2 separate regions of the Homo sapiens genome follow, and region 1 is linked to region 2. Evidence: promoter capture Hi-C in 16 types of primary human blood cells and fetal thymus (Javierre and others, 2016). All regions are on one chromosome and are shown on one strand. Each heading gives the region's core, a stretch centred on a gene start or on the middle of the fragment in contact. The rest is flanking DNA. Distances are from core to core; before and after follow the strand shown. Region 1 holds the start of RTCB (RNA 2',3'-cyclic phosphate and 5'-OH ligase). Region 2 holds the start of HMGXB4 (HMG-box containing 4).

What was found. The method cuts DNA at HindIII sites, captures the fragments that hold promoters and counts their contacts. A CHiCAGO score of 5 or more calls a contact.
Region 1: a contact is called between the fragment with the promoter of RTCB here and a fragment that was not itself captured in region 2, in 1 of 17 cell types (total B cells). The highest score is 5.2, in total B cells.

What each region holds. Positions count from the first base shown.
Region 1 is chr22:32,409,463-32,413,772 of GRCh38, reverse strand. RTCB (RNA 2',3'-cyclic phosphate and 5'-OH ligase) reads left to right here and starts at 1,526. Exons shown (of 12, transcript NM_014306.5): 1 at 1,526-1,709. The coding sequence starts at 1,617. RefSeq lists an enhancer at 1,377-1,556. The HindIII fragment of the contact is 2,194 bases long and covers 427-2,620 here.
Region 2 is chr22:35,253,045-35,257,691 of GRCh38, reverse strand. HMGXB4 (HMG-box containing 4) reads right to left here and starts at 199. Exons shown (of 11, transcript NM_001003681.3): 1 at 135-199. It overlaps LOC105373017 (a long non-coding RNA gene), which reads left to right. Exons shown (of 4, transcript XR_938210.3): 2 at 431-479. RefSeq lists a silencer at 1-139 and an enhancer at 405-905. The HindIII fragment of the contact is 1,741 bases long and covers 380-2,120 here.

The DNA of each region.
Region 1 (4,310 bases), core at 277-2,776, 2.8 Mb after region 2:
GGCCATGCCTGTAATCCCAGCACTTTAGGAGGCCAAGGTGGGCGGATCATGAGGTCAAGAGGTCGAGACTATCCTGGCCAACATGGTGAAACCCAGTCTCTACTAAAAATACAAAAATTAACTGGGAGTGGTGGCACGCACCTGTAGTCCCAGCTGCTTGGGAGGCTGAGGCAGGAGAATCGCTTGAACCTGGGAGGCGGAGGTTGCAGTGAGCCGAGATGGCACCACTGCACTCCAGCCTGGCGACAGAGCAAGACTCCAACTCAAAAAAATAATAAAATAAAATAAGACATAGAAAAGGGAAGAGACCTAAGGTTGCACAGACATCAAGGCTTGATTTTAAAAGAGAATTCTTTACCTCTGAAATCTTTCCAAGAAGGAACAGGGTAACCACAGGAAACTCTAAAAGTTGTATCACTTCAAGCTTTGGGATTTTTCACCCACCACAGATTCAATGAAATGGCAGTGCAGAGTACTAAACTCAGACAATTCATAACTGAGAATGATATTAATGTGTCAGAGCACCTAATCAATGGGGAGAAATTGGGGCAGAAGAGAAGAAAAGCGGAACCAGTGTAGATAATGCAACAAATGAATGGAAACTACATACTGTTTTTTGCAGCACTTACAGTCTAGTGGGGGAATGGAAAGAGGAGAGCTGTTTATAGAGTGCTTGCCGTGTGCCAAGCCCCGTGCTGATTACCCCTCCAGTGTCACTTCATTTAGCCTTCTACTCAAGAAAGAATTATGATCCCATTTTAGAGATGACGAAACAGAGATAAGAGGGGTTAATCACACCAAGTCAGTAAATGGCACAGATAGAAATTGAATCTTGCGTCTTTCTAATCCCAAAGTTGCAGTTGTTGACATGAGGCCGAACTGGAAACTGAAATCACTTAAAGCTCACTTACCACTATGAACAAGAGACACGGCGTATAAAAGCATGATTAAAGAGGTCTTGATCATCAAATGCGGCTAGACTGGGGAGTTTTGGCGATCCATAAGGGCTGTGATTTGATCATTTTGTAGTATATGTCTGGCCACAATAGATGCACCCACAAGTGTTTGTCAGAATAAATGATAAGCTGCCATGCTTCATTCTTTGGGATGCTCCTTTCTGACCAAAAAAGTTATTTGGTGTATATCCAGATTCATTCTGAAACATAAATGTTCAGCTATGGTATTTACTCAAACAGGTTTTTCTTTCTCAGCTGCTGGCGTTATCTTTTTCCCCTCCCAGCTGAGGGTGTAAACTCCAAGCCAATGCACCGAACCTGACCCAGACTCAAGGTGTTTTCATAAGCTGCTGAAAAGCATTTCCAAAACAAAAGATAACTAGATTATACTTTAAACTTCTGGATTTCGCTTAGCTGTAGTTTAGAGGAAATCGACTAATAAAGATCCTAAAGTTATACACTACAGGACAGTACAACTTAACCAGAGGAAAGACATTGGCCTGAAGAATTTTGAGCCTCGGCGCTTGCCGTTGCTCATCTGCTGCGGCGCTGGTCGCGCCTGCGCTTTGGTTCTTGGAAGGCGGTGCTCTGAGAAGCCGGACTACGCGGCAGCGGCTCTTCAAAGCGGAGCCGGGAGTTTTTGCTACAGTTTTCGCCACCATGAGTCGCAGCTATAATGATGAGCTGCAGTTCTTGGAGAAGATCAATAAAAACTGCTGGAGGATCAAGAAGGGCTTCGTGCCCAACATGCAGGTAAGGCAGGAGAGCAAATGGCGGGGCCTTCCGTGCTCCGTCCCCGGCCCGGCCGGCGTCCACTGCGCCCTCTGGACCTCCCCTGACCACTGGGTCCGCCCCGGCCCCTTGCAGAGTTTCCCTCATCCCGTCCTTCTCCCCTCACGGTTCTGGGGCCGCCCAACCTGTTCCGGCACCACCTCCCGCCAGGAGAGGTCCCCGAACCACGAGGACAAGCTAAGTGCGGTGGATATGGGAATCTAAATAAATACGAAATTGGGGTTTCCAAAGCGTTTTCACAGATCAGTCTCATAAACGTATCGTGAGCTGTTTTACGTTCACAGAAACTTCAGTGATCTTTTCCAGGGTGGAACAGCCAGCCCCAGGTTCATTTGCTGGGACTGGAATTCACCTCCTCTGAGTCATGCTGGTTATTTAAATAACGTTTACAAACCTTTGTTCACTAAACCAGGTTTTCAGCATTCAGTATCGCATGTTGGTTTTTAATAAAGCGATGTCATTTCTTGCAGTAGCGCAGGGCAGGGCCTGTTTGATTTTAATATTCACTTCACAGAAGGACCTCGAGGATCTGTCGGTGACATAGCTTCCTCTACCCACCTAGGAAGAAGCTCAGCCAGGACTTGATGTCCGGTTTACTTCTTTGACGTCCCAGATGGAGACTTGAGGGCTCAGGATCATCAGATAGTTTGAAAGCCTGGGCTCTGTATCTCTCGGCCTTCATCACCATCTGTGCTCATATTTTTATTAATGTGAAAAAAGAAAACGTTTATGAAGTTTTGCAACGTATTTTTAAATAGTTTTTGAAATCCCTGAAGGTGCCAAGTAAATGCTTCAAAGGTTTACCGTCTCGTCTCACGTCTTGGTAAACAGCTCCCAATAGTCACTCCATTCTTTTATTCAGAATCAAAGCTTACTGAGTTTCCCTTGTTGGCAAGTCACTTACACTGAGGGAAGAAAAAGCGCACGGGGATAAATCTGTGTTCTGTTTGCTGTTTGGCCACTTTCTTTGTGTGGAAACCGTTACCCTGAAGGAAGGAATAGAAAATCTAACATAGGGAGAGCGCAGTGGTTCATGGCCTGTAATCCCAACGCTTTGGGAGGCCAAGGCGGGAAGATCCTTTGTGCCTAGGACTTTGGAGACCTGCCTGGGCAATATAGTGGGACCCTGTCTCTACAAAAAAAATTTAATTAGCCAGGCGGGGTGGTGTGCACCACAGCTACTCAGGAGGCTGAGGCAGGGGGATCGCTTGAGCCTGGGAGATCTTGGCTGCAGTGACCCGTGATCATTCTAAACTGCACTCCAGCCTAGGTGACAGAGTGAGTCTCAAAAAAAAAAAAAAAGAAAAGAAAAAGAAAACACCATGACATGATTATCTGTAGGATCTAATAACACAGACTGTCATTGTCTGGCAGGTGTTCTGACTCAGCCTTTGATGCACACACTGCTGCTCATTCTATCTAGGGGCAAGTCTCATTTTGCTAGGCAGTTCTGGTTTAAGTTTGTATACAGCACTTTACTACCACCTTTCCTTTGGGAATAGAGACTTGGAATGTTAATGCATTGCTCTTAAAACGCTATTGACTTCTAAGCGTGAATTGTGCTTCCATATGAGAGCAGTGAATTTCACACAGATAATCATCTGTTACTAAATCTCCATTTCTCCCCCAAGACCCACATGTTGGACTAAAAATTTCTCTTTATTCCCTTAAAACACTCCCTTCCCATCTTTACGTCATTTTTGCGTTTAGTTCCTAGATGTTCTGCTGCGCCAGTGATGTCTCTTGTCTTCAAAGAACCAGCTCTACAGGATCTCTGTGAAACCTCTCCCAGCTCCCTAGACTGTTGAGGCACTTCCTCATCAGATTCTTCCATAGCACTGTGTACTTAATGTTATGGCACTTGCTTCATTGCACTCTGATATTCTTATCAGAATATAAGGGCTGTACTGGCTGGGTGCGGTGGCTCACGCCTGCAATCCCAGCACTTTGGGAGGCTGAGATGGGCGGATCATGAGGTCAGGAGATCGAGACCATCCTGGCTAACACGTGAAACTTCGTCTCTACTAAAAATACAAAAAATTAGCTGGGCGTGGTGGCGGGCACCTGTAGTCCCAGCTACTCGGGAGGCTGAGGCAGGAGAATGGCGTGAACCCAGGAGGCAGAGCTTGCAGTGAGCCGAGATCATGCCACTGCACTCCAGCCTGGGTGACAGAGCAAGACTCAGTCTCAAAAAAAAAAAACAAAAGTATATAAGAGCTGTATTGTGTACTGGGAGCTCCTTGAAAGGAAGATCTTATATTCTTTCTATCTCCCCTAGTGCCCAGGACAGTGCTTCATGCATAGTAAATCCTCAGTTAATGTTTGGTGAATTAATAAATGTGACCCTTAAGAAATTATACTGGAAATATTTTCCATCAGTGGGTATTAAATTGTTATTTATGCAATGGTGATGAAGTCATCTTTCTGATAAAAACTACATTCAATTGATTAAGTGTTAAATCTTTGGTTCTCCATTACTGGACAGCTCTTTCACAATATTTGACCTGTGATAAAAATGTTCTGCTCTTTAGTGTTACATAAGTATGTCGTCCATTGCCTTCT
Region 2 (4,647 bases), core at 1-2,500:
TAGGCCGCGAAGGGCCTGGGGCACCCCAGAGGTGATGTCGCGGGCCCAGGGCGGCGGGTGGCGACGGGGCGGGGCTGCTGCCGCCTCAGGGTGGGGGCCCAGCCCGGTCTCCTGGGGTCTCCGCTCGCCGCTACCTTCACTCGGCTCGCCCGGATCCCGCCTCAACGCCGCCGATCGCCGCCATCTTGGAGAAGGAGAGAAAAGCGCGAGCGGCCAGGGAGCCTCAGTCGAGCCCAGAGCGCAGACTCGGGCTCCGGAGGGGGAATCCCGCTCGACCAAGAGCGCCGAGCGCATCGAATAAAACTCGGAGCCTGCTGAGCGCGGGAGCTGGCACTTATTTATTGAGAATTTGCTATGTCCCAGCCTTGCCCTAGAAGCTTACAAACATTATTTCACTTAATCCTCACTGTATTCCTGTCGCATTTTGCAGAAGAGAACCAGGCTGAGAGAAGTTAAGTGACGTGCCCAAGGATACACAGGTAGTTGGAATGTGAGACCGAGTATTACTCCAAGTCTTCTGATTCTGAATGCAGTGCTTTCCCCAAAATACTATGCTGTTTCTTTCAAGATATTGTTATACAGCAGTTCTCCTCTTTGCAACACCTAGATCTATGCAGATTAATAGCAGTGTGCTTATTTGGACTTCAGCATCTACATTTGAACATTTGGCATATTAGGGGTGAGGTGAAGAACTTATCTTTGTAACAATGTACAGTAAAATAATTTGCATGGCGAATCATCTACATTTTTTAGTTAGAAACAGTCTTCAGAGAGAGAGAGGAAGAGATGTCATATACAGGCGAGAACACAATTTTTCTGATTTGCCATTGAGAACTTCGACCAATGAGTAGAAATTACAGTGTATAGAACTTGGTTTGATATGAAGAAGAACGCCAGGGGCGGTGGCTCACGCCTGTAATCCCAGCACTTTGGGAGGCTGAGGTGGGTGGATCACCTGAGGTCAGGAGTTCGAGACCAGCCTGACCAATGTGGTGAAACCCCGTCTCTACTAAAAATACAAAAAATTAGCCAGGCGTGGTGGCGCGTGCCTGTAATCCCAGCTACTTAGGAGGCTGAGGCAGGAGAATCGCTTGAACCCGGGAGGCGGAGATTGCAGTGAGCCGAGATTGCGCCACTGCACTCCAGCCTGGGGGACAGAGTGAGACTCCATCTCAAAAAATATATATATATATGAAGAATAACTTATTTTTCTAGTACAGTTCAGTAGTACAATGGGCTTCCTTGTGAGTAGTGAGCTCCCTCCCACTGGAGGAGCGCTCAAGCAGAAGCTGGTGTTACTGTAAAGCAGAGAAGTTAGAGATGTAGATTGGCTTCTAGAGTTGTGAACCCCATGCAACGTAAAATCATGTGTGCAGTGTGTGTTTTCCTAGGGCCCAGGCCCCATAAAAAATTAAGAACCTCTGTCCTAGTGTATTTTCCATTGCAGAGTTGGGTGAGTGCTTGAAGACGAGGTAGTCATGAGACCAATAAAAGCAAGGTGATTTGTCTGAGACCACACTCTAATCAGTGATCAGATAAAGATGAAAAGCCAGATTGTTAGACTCTGGTTCAGTGCTCTTTTTGCTATATCATGCTCTCTCCCCCTCTGCACTGAGTAGAAGATTGATTCTGTTTCTTACAACTGTGAGATGCTGAGATGTTAAAACACCTGAGATAAAGTTGCTGAAATCATTTGCAAAATGTAACTGCAAATACTTAATAAAAGTAGCATGGCCTTTTTCTCCGCAGCTCCCATCCTACTCACCAAAAAGACAGGCAATGAGTTTCACCAAAAGGTGTTAGATTGCATTTCTGGGACACCCTGCCTGACGTTAGGCTTCCCTTTGAGGCATTTAAGAGCCCTAATGATGTATTTCCTTTTTGTTCTTCAGAGCCCTAAATCCATTGGTCAGGATGATTTCAGTTGTGACAGAAACCCATTTCCATGTGTTTCCCCAGAAGAGGGGAATTTATTGGCTCACATGATTGAAATTTCCAGTACCTGCAGACATGGTCACTTCCAGGGAGGTAACTCAAGCTGGTCCTTTGACGTGTCTGTGGTGCTCTCCTCTGTTAGCTTTATTCTCAGATTCAGGTGATGACTCCAGCAGCTCCAAGCTTCATCATCTTTCCTGCTAGCAGTGTCCCTGTGGAGGGAGGTTTTGTTTGTTTGTTTTGAGACAGGGTCTTTCTCTGTCACCCAGGCTGGAGTGCAGTGGCACGATCACAGCTCACTGCAGCTTCGACCCCCTGAGTTCAAGCAATCCTCCCACCTCAGCCCCCCAAGTAGCTGGGACCACAGGTGCATGCCACCATGCCCAGGTACTTTTTGTATTTTTTGTAGAGATGGGTTTTTTTTGTTGTTTTTTTTTTACCATGTTGCCCAGGCTGGTCTCAAGCTCCTGGACTCAAGCAATCCTCCTGCCTTGGCCTCCCAGAGTGCTGGGATTACAGATGTGAGCCACCATGCCTGGCCCTGGAAGGAGTTTCTTTTTCCCTTTTGCTTTGGCAAAAGTCATGGGATTGATTCTTATTGCCTGAATTAGATCATGTGTCCAGACAAAAAGCAATCACTATGAGTAAAGGTGTGGAGTCTGCTGCTGCTGCTGATTGGTTAAATTAGGTCATCTGCTTACCTCCAAAATTAGGTTGGGGTAGACACAAAGAAAATCAAGGGTTGCTGTCAGAAGGGTGAGTGCATGTTAGGTAGGCAAAAACAGTAGCTGTCCCCACACTCTACCACTAGCTTGGACCTAAAAGCCTTATGAGTCCTATTGGTCCCATTTCTTCTTTTAGTCCACCTGAAGATGGAGCATATCAAGTTCTTGCTCATTTTAAGCTCCTGGAGACCTGAAGTCAGATCTCTCCTCAGCCTACTCACTCAATCACAAAATGCTATTAACTTGCTCCCAGTCTTGGATCATTGCACTTCCATTTATTAAACAGATATTTATTGAAAACACAGCATGTGGCAGGTACTGTCTTAAGTGTTGGGAATAGAACAGTGAACAGAATTGAGAGTCCTTGGCCCCCAGGAGCTTACATTCCGGTTGGGTTGGGGGACACAAAATTAAGATATGAATACTACATTCAGTGATAATCAGAGGTGGAGAAAATAATGCCAGGTTGGCTACGAGAGTACCAGCAGGGGATGTGGGTAGGAACAGCTTGTTCTTTAAAACAGTAATCAGGGAGGCTTCTCTGTTGAGGTGCACACCGGAGCTAGCTCAGCCAGAAGTGGGTTGGTGGTGGGAGCCAGGAGATCATAGTTCCTTGAATGTATTCAAGTGCTTCCTCTGTACCTTGCTGGAAAAGTATTCTTTGCTGACTATCTTTCATAGTTCTCTTGCATTTTTGAAACTTGGAAAGACAGAAAAGAGGACCCTCTGGGCAGGCCTAGTCATGGTGGGGTTTGTGAATAAGAATGCCTTTTCCCATGGCAAGTGAGGATAGCATCTAGCATATGTGAAGAGGGGGCACTCCCTAAGTGTGGGGCAGTTCTCTGGTCCACCTGATCTAAGGAAAACTGCCTGGTGCCTGGCAGCAACAGGTGGGGCCTGTCAAATTGTGCTTGGTTTGGACATCTCTTTCTTCAGGCCACTTTTCTGTGCTCTTCTCTTTCCAGATGTGTTTTGAGCAGCGTCTTTGTCTTCGGTCTGATGGGAGGATGCCATCCTGGGTACATACATTAGGCCAGGGCCTTTTGCTAGAAGTGACAGGACCTAATTAAAACTACCTTAAGAGACAGGCAGAGGGACATACCACAGATTCTCAGTCTGTGTGTATGCCCTAAATTGCAAAATTAAAAAAATAAAGAGACCAGTAGAAAATATGTAACTCATGTAAAAAACAAAACAAAACAAAAACTACTCAGAGCCAGAGAGAAGCAGGCCCTCTGGACAGCTGGGTCCGGGGATTCAAATCCTTCCCTCTTAACTCTGTTCTCTCAGGCTGGCAGTCCCTAGGGGCCTGGAATCATGGCCACAGGTAGCCCAGGCTTACATCTTTATAGTCTCCTGACCAGAGAGGAAAGAGCATGTTCCCACATCAGCAACACACATACACACACACACACGCGCGCGCGCGCGCGCACAAAATCCAAGAGAAGAACTCCAATTGGCTGGGATGGGGTCATGTGATCATTCAGTATTGTGATAGTTCCTGGGATACCACAAAGTTGCAATAGGACATTAGTCCTTCTATAAAAGAAAGGGGATCTATTCTGGGAAGACAAATAATAAATGTCCCCTATGGTGAAGCAATGATACTTGTTTTCCTGCTTTTGAGCAACTTATTATCTTCTGTGTGTATGTGTGTTTTGTGGGCAATGTAAAACAAGTCTAAGTCCATAATTACTATGGTACAAATGTAAAAGAAAAATGTGCCCCAATAGATGGGCCATCTCTCATTGGGCTATTACAATAGCTTCCTAATGGATTTTTATCTTCAGGGCCCCTTCCCCACTTCGAAGTCCATCCGCCATTGCTGTCAGGATAAAGCACTGCTAACATGAGCTTATACTTCAGCTAATGACTTTTTTCTTTTTTTTTTTTTTTTTTGAGATGGAGTTTTGCTCTTGTCGCCCAGGCTGGAGTGCAGTGGCATGACCTCGGCTCACTGCAACCTCCGCCTCCCGGATTCAAGCGA